2 separate regions of the Homo sapiens genome follow, and region 2 is linked to region 1. The links are contacts of gene promoters, found by promoter capture Hi-C in blood cells and fetal thymus (Javierre and others, 2016). All regions are on one chromosome and are shown on one strand. The core of a region is centred on a gene start or on the middle of the fragment in contact, and the rest is flanking DNA. Distances in the headings are between cores, read along the strand shown. Region 1 holds the start of RBMS3-AS2 (RBMS3 antisense RNA 2). Region 2 has its middle 340 kb from the start of LINC00693.

The links. The method cuts DNA at HindIII sites, captures the fragments that hold promoters and counts their contacts. A CHiCAGO score of 5 or more calls a contact.
Region 2: a fragment that was not itself captured here is called in contact with the fragment with the promoter of RBMS3-AS2 in region 1 in 1 of 17 cell types (endothelial precursors); the score reaches 6.3 in endothelial precursors.

The regions. Positions count from the first base shown.
Region 1 is chr3:29,638,794-29,644,116 of GRCh38, reverse strand. RBMS3-AS2 (RBMS3 antisense RNA 2) reads left to right here and starts at 1,301. Exons shown (of 3, transcript NR_174948.1): 1 at 1,301-1,458; 2 at 2,970-3,023. All of the region lies in intron 4 of RBMS3 (RNA binding motif single stranded interacting protein 3), which reads right to left. The HindIII fragment of the contact is 8,371 bases long and covers 1-3,724 here.
Region 2 is chr3:28,909,791-28,915,216 of GRCh38, reverse strand. No RefSeq gene overlaps it. Among named protein-coding and RNA genes, the nearest start is that of LINC00693, 340 kb to the right of the region's middle. The HindIII fragment of the contact is 1,519 bases long and covers 1,619-3,137 here.

The sequences.
Region 1 (5,323 bases), core at 52-2,551:
CCCTCTATTAGATTCAAATGTTTGGATTCAGACTAACCAAGCTGTGATTATGAGAAGCTGGAGAAATGTTTGAAAGCTGGGGGTAGAAGCGGCATACTGCCACTGAAACCTCAATTTTGGAGTGTGAGAAACCAATGCACTCGAAAAACATTCTGCTTTACAGGACTAATATGAAATTATCCTAAACGGAGGTTTTCAGAGAAAGAAAATGGCAGGAAATTCATTAATGCTCCCACTCCCTGAATGTGTGTGTGTTTTCCTTTTTCCATGTTAAAATTGTGATTACAGAAATGAGACGAGATCAATATTACCTACAGCTTGACATTCAGAGACAACGACAGAACTAAATATCCATTAACTGTCTCTTTTCTCCGGCCTTTTCTCTAGAAACCTCCCTCAAATCACCCACATTGATAGAGAAATGACATGAAAAATGGCCCACAAACAACGGCGCTTTCCTTGAAGAAAACAACTTTCACGTTTTTCTCCCTTTTTTCCCTGCAGACTGTGTTACGCTCCTTAATTTGTCCCTGCACAAGAAATAAGCATATGGATCCGTGAATGTACCCTTCCTCCTCTGCTGCATTCTGAAAGGAAAGTCAGAAGCTCGTCAAACTTAGAACTTGAAGCTAAGCTAAGACACCCTCGGCAATGCAGGGGAAAAGTAGGAATGAGAACAAAATGAAAAATCCTGAAGAAACCACTCTGGGGGAAGAAGTCAACAAAGAAATTATACCACTATGAGGCTCATGAAGCCCGTGCAGGCCAAAAACCTTGTTCCTAAAAGCTCCCCATGTGTGGCTGCTAATGCACAGGAAATGTGATTAGCTGCCTGAGAAAGGCCTAGAATTACTCCCATTCTGACTAGATTACTGGATAATTAGATTGGTAGCGCTCTTCCCTGACTGTGGCTGTCAGATTAAATCTGGCTGGTTCTCTTTAGATAACTGTCATGCCCCAAAATAACAAACAGAGACTGACACAGCGAGGAGCCTTTTAAAAAGTGTTCCAAGAATCAAAGTGCCTATTTTTTCTTAATAATAAAACATGAACAATGTTCAATGGACTTGAGTTTATTCAAATTGTCATTATATTTGATTAAGAAAATGCTACCAGACAAAGCCTGGCCAGACAGGCTTAATCTCTGATGGTAAATGAACATCGCCAGGCTTGACTAGCCACCTCTGGGATCGACTGAGGGAAAGGCAGACTTGAATTACTCAGAGAATAAGCCAGTGGTTCTGTTTTAATGCTCTGAGTCAGCAGCCTTTTATAGCTCAAATCAAGGTCAACAAGATATGTAGAGCACCTTCTCTGAGCACTAGCTGGAACACGGCGGCTCTTCTTTCTTCCACTCTGAGACAAGAACACATGCGCTTTTCCTGTAAGTGTTGTCTCCCCAGTTATTCTGGAGACCATCCAGAAGAGAATGAGAATAAAGAAACCAACAGAAGAAAGGTACAAAGGGTCCCAGGTTCTTACCAAGTTCCCACAGTCTTGTTCTGCTGTCCCTAGTGACTAAATGTTTGCAGTGACTGGGGCAGTGTTTCCTCAGGTGTTATAGCCTGGCCTCTGGCAAGAGATGGGAAAGGGGATAGAAAGATGAAATGCTTTTTGGTGGTACACATGAAACCATACATTTTTACTTATTTTATTTTTATATGGCAAATATAACTGATTTTCTATTTATAATAGAGATACAAAGTTTCCTTTTTAAGGAAACTAACAACAAAGTGTTCAAAAATAAACATAGATGATCAATTTGTTTTAAGAAAAGGTTAACAGGCAGGTATGGCAAAATGCAAATATAACAAAGGTGGAAAGCTGAGAAACCTGGGTGTAAATAAGAGAAGACAGAGCAAAGCATCAGATCAGATGGTGAATCCCAGCATTTCCACTTAGAATTGCAAACTCTTGGGCTAGTTCATTCACTTCACCCAGGGTCAGAATCCACTCATTGGCAGATCTACGGGTTATAACCTTTCTGATCGCAGAAAGTTGTAAAATATCAGCAGTGAGCCTGCCACAGCGTGCATGTTCAGTAAGTGAAAGCAGTTATTGCTTTTAACAAGTGGAACTGGAGTTCTATGTATCTCTTCATAAAATGCCTAAGAAATGTCAGTTCTCTTTGGGTAGGACTTGCCAAATCTCCTCATTGTTTGGTTCCCTCTTTCTTGGGAGGACAGCTCTAAGAAGAATCCCTTGGCTTCAGATGTTTAATATGCATCTCCAAAGCCCCTAGAAGGACCAGGCAAATTTCACTGTGCCTCTGCTCTTCATGGACACCACTGACTTTAGCATAAGTGTCCTGGTCTTTACATCTCTCACCCTGTGCAGTGTGCCTGTCTTGAGTAGATGCTCAACAAATGTTACCTCAGTGAATATGACAATTAAAGAAGCAGTGCAGTATACATTTTTTAAATTCAAATGTTCATACAGTATACAAGAGAGAAAAAAACAAGTGGCCAAATCTTTTTCAAACTCAATAAAATAAGCTAAAAAATTAAAAGTCATTGCCATTTCTTTTTAAAGTGAATGTATCTATTGTTTAAAAAGTATTTGATATACTACTAAAAGTAATAATTGGCACAAACATTCTGGAAGGCAATTTAGCAGTACATTAAAACGTGTATGAAATATACATTTAAGATATACCATTTGATTCAGCAATTCTAACTTTAGAAATCGATTCTAAACCAATTATTATGAATATGTAGAGATATTTACTTATAAGGATGGTCAATGCAGCCTCTTTGAAATACTGGTGGTTTGGAAACAACCATTATGCTCAGCAATATATTTTTAAAATACAGTATGATACTGCTTTACAAATGGGAAAGCATGTGGCCACTGAAAATAATTTTTTTGAACAATATTTAGTAACAGGGAAAATGATTTAGTTTATACACAACTTATCAGATTAAAATACAATATGTATGAATAGATTCATTTTTGTAATTTGTCTTTAGATAAAGAAGGAAGAATAAAAGATACCAAAATGACAGTTATCGCTTGCTTCGGAGGTGAGACTATAGAGGATTTTTATGTCTTTCCTAGTTATTTTTCTTGAAGTTTCTATTATGAACAAATACATTTCATAGCTAATTTATTTTGTGCAATTGGCCAAGGACTATGCTAAGTTTGTTACATGTATTATCATGTAATTCTCACAAAAGCCCTATGAAGTAGGAAGAATCATTATCCCCATTTTTAAAGATGGGTAAACACAGCTGTAGAGACAGTAAATAACTTACCCAGGGTCACACAGGAGTAAGGGGTAGAGATAGCCTTCAAACTCAGTTTATCTGACAGCAGAAATGGAATATTTTAGGGTTAAATACAATACTGTTTCATATGTATTATTCTTTATATAGGGTAAAAAGCTACTTTAAAACAAGGAAAAAATGCCAAGGACCACTATATGATTGATAGCAGAAAGAATTGTACAGATGAATGTAAAATCATTAAAATGTTTTCCTCCACTTTGAACCAGTGGAATCTATGCACGATCAAATAGTTCAGTGTAAATTATTTTGTGTAACACATCATCCTTCAAGAACCCAGGGATTTTATTTACAACAGACTGACCAATTGATGTTTCTAAATATTAACTAGTGAAGCAAGCTCTTGGTCCTATAGAATTTTAAATTATCAAACTTCGCTTATCTTCTGTTAAATTTAGAATTGTGTTTGTTTAAAATGTCTAAGAATGATCCCCGAAGCTTAATCATTTTCCTCATTGTTATGCAGGTAATATATGCTCAATTTTAACATCCAGAGATAAACTTTCTACCTTTTGCTGTTTTCTTTCCGTCTTTCGTGTGTGTGTGGGTGTGTGTGTGTGTGTGTGTGTGTGTGTGTAACCAAAATGTCAATAAAATGTTTACTGCATGAGATTATCCAGATATTTTAGATTTCTGGAGTCATCCTAGTACATCTGGGGAAATACTTGGCATAGTTACACATCTGTATCTGCTCATATGCCATTCTGATTTGCTAGCATTCCTTTCTCTCAGCCTTGTATCAACCTGTAGGTAGAATATAGTGACATAGCAGTGGCTTTTCTCTTAAGCCCTTCCAGAGCATGCTTCCTGATGGTCAGGGCATAGGAGGGGATTATATCAGAGTTCAGGACAACACATTATAGCAAAAAGTTTATGTTTCAATAGCAGATATCCTTCTTTTTTTTATATCTCCCCGTCATCTGAATACCTCATTGAACAGTTATTCAATTTTCTCCTGGAACTTTAATCTCTTGTTCAGTGTCTCTTCTTTTCCCTTTAAAAAATATCTGGCCTTCTTCCAAGAAAAACCAGGGAAGTAAAAATTGCTGTTGCTCTTCGGTTATGCTTTGTCTCACACTCATCCTTCTCTCAGGCAGATACTGGGCTTCTCTATTTATATGCAAGTGTTTTTCTAAACAAAAAGAGGACTTCCAAGGCCAGCTTTTACAGTGACACTTTTTATTTATTCTGTGCTGCATTCTGATCATTCTCTCTCTCTCTCTCTCTCTCTCTCTCTCTGTCTATCTTCTATCTATCATCTATAGTGTATATTCTGGTTTTTGCCATACAGTATTTTACAGTGAACATTTTCTCATCTTAGTACAAACACTATGGAAGCAGAATGTAATGGCCAAGTAAATTCAACCTTACAGATGTATTAGTGTGATGTTTCCAAAGTTTGCAGAATGATAAAAGTATCACTAGGCGTGTTTATAAAAAAAATACAATTTTCAAAAATTTCCCCTTGGATATTTTGATTTGGTAGGTCTGGGATAGGACCTAAAAATCCATAGTTTGCAAAAAGTGTTTCCAAATTATCCTTCCTGTATATGATCATCTCCTTTCCCTTAGACATGAAAGTCATTTCTAACTTTTTGTAAAAGTAGATAAATACTATTAATTTCTGGAAACTTTCAGAAAGAGATTAAGTTAAATCGCTTGGAAATTCAGCCAAGGTAGACCATGTAAACGTGCCTAAAGCCTCACCCAGGCCTCTTCCCTCAAATTGAACTATTCCTTACAATGTCATTTTTGTGCCTTTGTAAGTAAACCAGAGTAAATAATTTGAAATTTGTAAGATTTCAAAATACAATACGATAAAAGAAACTTTTAACTCTTAAAGAAAGGATTATTATGATTCACACTTATAGCAGATACAGGAATCAAAATATTTTCTAATATTTCAAATAAAAAATGTAGTCTTAATTTACAGCGATATACATTAAGAAAATTTTCCAGCTCGAAGCAATGTCTGATCAACAACAAAAATATACCTAATACAGTAATGCCTAAAGAATAACAGTTTTTCAACCTTTCCT
Region 2 (5,426 bases), core at 1,129-3,628, 730 kb after region 1:
TTTACAGTCTGCATAATACCTAAAATGAGAATATAAAAGTCTTACTCTAGTTATTTAAAAGCATATTAAACTGTACAAATTTGAAGTTTCATTCATCGCTAAAGCTAATTCTAAGGAAAGTCAAAAGAAAGAAACTTCTGAAGAATGACAGCAGTGCAAAGCAACAATCATAAATAGAGATAGAGCATGATAACATATATATGTCATGGTTAATGTCAATTTCAGCTAAGATTTGTCAAAGAATAGCAAGCCAAATACATTTAGACTTCCCTAAATAGTTTTGTTTACTATCTTCACCCAGACATCTTATAATATAAGAAGGGTGATTTTAAGATATTAAAAGTTTGCCTTTGGAGTTAAAAAGTAAAGACAAACAGAACCTATAAGCTCATAACACCTTAGGCTTAGAAGTCATTAGATTGCCTAATTCAACTCAATATTACCACCATGTAAAAATACCTACCTAGAGCATTGTCAGTTACACACCTGAATATTCAAAATCACAGGTGTTCATTGCCTCCTAAGGCTTTCTACTCTAATTTCACACAGTTCTAATAGTTAAAAAGTTCTTCATGCTGAATTGAATTCCCCATTCTTGTAACAATTTCTATTACCTGTTGGAACAATACAAAATTATTCTCTTTTCTACATAAAAGCCTTTTAAATATAGAAAGATTATTATCAGGGTGTCCCTAAAATCTTTCTCCCTTAAGACAAATATGCCCAGTACCATCAGAGATTTCTGTTAGTTGTATGTAAATTCTCCAGTCACCCTTTTCTTGAATCAGTGAACATCTGCTCAATACCACACTCTGGTGTGAACTGAGAAAAACAATATAGGGTAGGAACATCGGCTCCTGTGGACCTGACATTAACACACTATTAATGCAATCCAAAAGGATATCAGAATGTTTTAATCGCTACATCACTCTGTTGGCTTGTAAAGAGATTTGCTTTGTATAAAAATTTGCTCATATTTATATTAAGATGGGTTCAGAGTAGTCTTCCTATTTCTGTTGTTTTTTTTAACCTAAACAATTGAATTTGAATTTGTCTATGTTAAAGTCGTCTTGGTTTTAGCTGTTTGTTCCAACCAGTTTAAATTTGTCTTGAATTCCATATTTATTATGTGATCCTCCATTTCAAAGCATTTGTGTAACTTTTCAGCCCACATCCAAGTTGTTGTGCAGCATTTTAAAAGGGACAGGGACAAATACAGGACTGTGAGGCTGGGCATTCATATGCCACTTTCTGGGTAAAATCTCATGACCTACATTCTTTATTCACAGCTCTCCAATTTGTCAGCAACAAATCAGTAAAAACTGTTCCATGACTTGCTCAAATTTGAAAAGACTTTGCTTTTGCTTTTTAAATCACCTAATCCAGAAGTCTAGAATCCTACCCCAAAAAAGGAATCAAGAGTAACTTTCATTCCCATCCTTTTAAAATACATTCTGAAATTTAGTGGTTGCCCTTTTTCTGTGAACTCAAAACCATGTGTTTCCTGACTTATTTTGCCCAGAAATTGTTGTCAAATTTACAAATCTGTCACATTCGTAATCCATTTCTCTCTCCCTCTCTTTTTGTAAATGGCCTAGTATAAGCTTTTCTAGAAGCTTATGCTTACTTTGTCATCTCTGCTCTTGAAGTTTGTCTCCTCTCCAGAGTGCAATTTATCTGGGCTTGATATTAGAAATCATTTGACATACGTAGGTATCTTCTTAACGTGGCCTTTCCTTTCCTGGCCTTCCATATATTCTTATTAACCTTTATTCTACTTTCCAGTTGGGAAAAAAATGTCAAACAAAAAATAAAAATAAAGATTTCTCTCTTTCTCATGTCGTTTGTTAGTATTACACCATATTTCCAGCATGCTCATTCTGCCTTCCTTTCATGTGAATACAACTATGTTACGATTTGACGGTGGAGGAGGTTGGGGGAGAATCTTATTCCAAAACTGAAATCCTTAAGGAATTTTAAATTTTTGCTTTTAAAAATCTCAATGTTTCTTTTTTAAAAGGTATTGTTTACATTTTTAAAAAGTACATTTTTTATTTTTGCATTTATTTCTAATTATTAAAATTATATATATATACACTCTGTAGAAATTCTTGAAAAAAATTATATAAGCAAGCAAGTAATGAAAAAAAACCTCAAAATCCATTTTTCAACATCCATCCCATAGTCCCCACTTATCTGAGGAAGATACCTTCCAAGACTTCCAGTGGATTCTTGAAACCTCAGATGCTATTGAACCCTGTATATACTATGTTTTGTCCTATATGTAACCTATGATAAGGTATAATTTATAAATTAGCCACAGTAAGAGATTAACAATAATAATAAAATAGTACTTTATAACAATATGCCAGAATTTCTACTCTTGAACTTTGGGACCATTATTAAGTAAAATAAGAATTACTTGACCACAAGCACTACAATACTGAGACAGTCGATCAGATAAGAGATGGTTACTGAGTGACTAGCAGGGAGGTAACATATACAAGAGCATAGATATGTTGGCCAAAGGGATGAGTTACGCCCAGGCAGGATGGAGTGTGACAGCACAAGATTTCAATGCATTATTCAGAATAGTGAGCCATTTAAAACTTATGAATTGTTTATTTCTGGAATTTCCCATTTAACATTTTTTGGACTTCGATTGACTACGGGAAACTGAAACTTCAGAAAGCGAAACCACAGATAAGGGAGGACTGCTGTATAGATTCTAAAATATAAATAAAAAAGAAATATTGACTTTAATTCCATGATATCATTGAGCTCTCGGTGTTCAAGTCATTCATCCCTTCAATGTTCTGGCTTCTGACTTAACTAGATGCTAGAGCTACAATAAGAACTAAGAGTTCTAGACAGAAAGTACACATTCTTTGGCCTCAAGAAGTTTATTAACCATTAGATAAGCAAACTAAAAACTGAGATAGCTTGTAGAGCAAAGTGAAGTATGGGATGTCAAGAGAAGTCCAAAGAAACAGTACCTGAGAGCCTGGCAGAACATGGTCAGGAAAGGAGGCTCTAGTTATAATCCTAAATGAAGGCTCTTGGTTGAATATTCTTTCAAGCCACAAAAACATCCACAACATTCCCTTTTCAGTCTGGATCACATCACTAGAAAAGCTTCTAATCCCCTTTCTTTGACCAGAAAACTCAGCCTTTCTGTTCTCACTATCATTGTGAAGATGTATTTGTTTTTCCCAAAACCAAAAAAATATTTTACCACAGAGTAAGAAGTAGTTATATGCTCCCAAAACACAATATGTATTAAGGCACAAAAGCCATCTTTCAAGTAATCCTTGTTTTGATCTGAGAAGGATTCGTCGCTGAATTTAGGGAAACGTTCTCTCCCCAAGTAATTGCAATATCCATCTAATTCCGGCTGAAACAAACTCCTGTCATTCTGCTTATTCACACACCTATGTGAGCAAATGTAATTTCCTTGAGATAAAGTGTGTTGGCTGAATTGGTAAGAAAGAAATAGGGAAAGCAATTATTCAAAAAAAAAAATGAAGAAGAAGAAAAAAAGAAAACAAACAAAAGGACCCTGCCTGTGCTTATTAGTTCTTTGGTACAGAGCCATGTTTTGAGTCAGGAGCTTGTGTGAGTGTCTTATCCTTGGCTTAGGAAGAAATAGGGAACAAATGCACATCTATGGAAGCACAAACACAGAGGATTTCCTTTTGATCAATTAGTATAGAATGTAATGGCAGCTTTACATATATTTTTCCATAAACATGGAATAATAAAACATCTATTTACTAATAGTTGCAGGAAAACCAGCAAAGATGAACATATGACCTTTTATTATATGCAACATGTATTTTTGGCTGGCCAATTTCAGAAGATCCTTTCTACCTTTGTAGAATTGATTGACAATAAATATTAGTAGGAAATAGAACCTGCTCCATTTATAGAAACTGACAAAGACATACTTTCCCAGCCTACTTCGTAACGATGGAGAAAACATGGACCTACCTTTTATGAAAAAGATGTACCTGTTGGCCAGGCACAGTGGTTCACGCCTGTAATCCCAGCACTTTGGGAGGCCAAGGCAGGTGGATCACCTTAGGTCAGAAGTTCAAGACCAGCCTAGCCAACATGGTGAAACCCTGTCTCTACTAAGGATATAAAAATTAGCTGGGCATGGTGGCACACGCCTGTGGTCCCAACTACTCAGGAGTCTGAGGCAGGAGAATCGCTTGAACCTGGGAGGCAGAAGTTGCAGTGAGCCGAGATCACACCACTGCACTCCAGCCTGGGCGACAGAGCAAGACTCCGTCTCAAAAAAAAAAAAAAATGTACCTGTCAAAGGCATTGAGTCCAGAGTGGGTTATGAGAAGCATTCAGTGCCAGTAGTAGGGAGGGTTCAAGATGGTGCACTGATATCCAATGGTAATAGCAAAGGCATCCTCTGCAGACTGATTCATTGGCAAGATTTAATTTTGGGTATCTACCTTTCATTTACTTCTGCATATTTTGCCAACCTGATTTTTCTACCTTCTAGGTAATTCAGTGAGTTACCTAATGTAGACTCAGTAACTTCTTTTTCTGCTTAAGTTATCCACAGTTAATTTCTTTGGTTCACAACTCCACTAATATAATATTCTGACCAATAAGTCTCCTTCTCAATCTAATCTCTAAGGTTCTATTATTTCATCCAAACCACTCTATGGCAATTTATCTTTTTAAATACATGATTCTCCTCTATGAAGTCTTTGAGGGCAGGCATAGCTCTCCTTTTTTTCCTACCCATTACCTAAGAATATAATGCACACACACACACACACACACACAGACACTTCAAAATGTGTGTGAAAGTGAATGGTGCCATTAAAATCTTTTTATTGTTTCCCAGATACGTAATTCACCTTATCCTTGTAAATCGAAATAGACCACACTCTTTCATAGCTAGAGCTTTTGTTATTTGCTTATGAATTTTTCTTCTTTTTCTATTAGCTTTGGTGCAAGGACTGGGTTTTGTTAAGTTTAGATCCTGTATCCAATAAATAACTTATTGATGACTGTGAACACAACTAATGAATAGCAGAGCCATGCCTAGAAATCATGTTAACTAACTCTTGCCTGTATGCCCCTCAGCCTCTGAGCAGCATCATAACTAGCATGACAATCCCTTAGTTTCTAAGTAATGATTATACCACCACCTTAGACGGTTGGCATTTAGAGGCAAATAACCCTCATATAAAATATTTTATCCAGTTGTCTGATGTTACCACATAGGCCCTAAAGGACTAAAGTGGCTCAGTACATCTGATTTTAGAAAAACTGGTTGAAATTGGCCGGGCCTGGTGGCTCATGTCTGTAATCCCAGCACTTTGGGAGGCTGAGGCGGGCAGATTACAAGGTCAGGAGATCAAGACCATCCTGGCTAACATGGTGAAACCCTGTCTCTA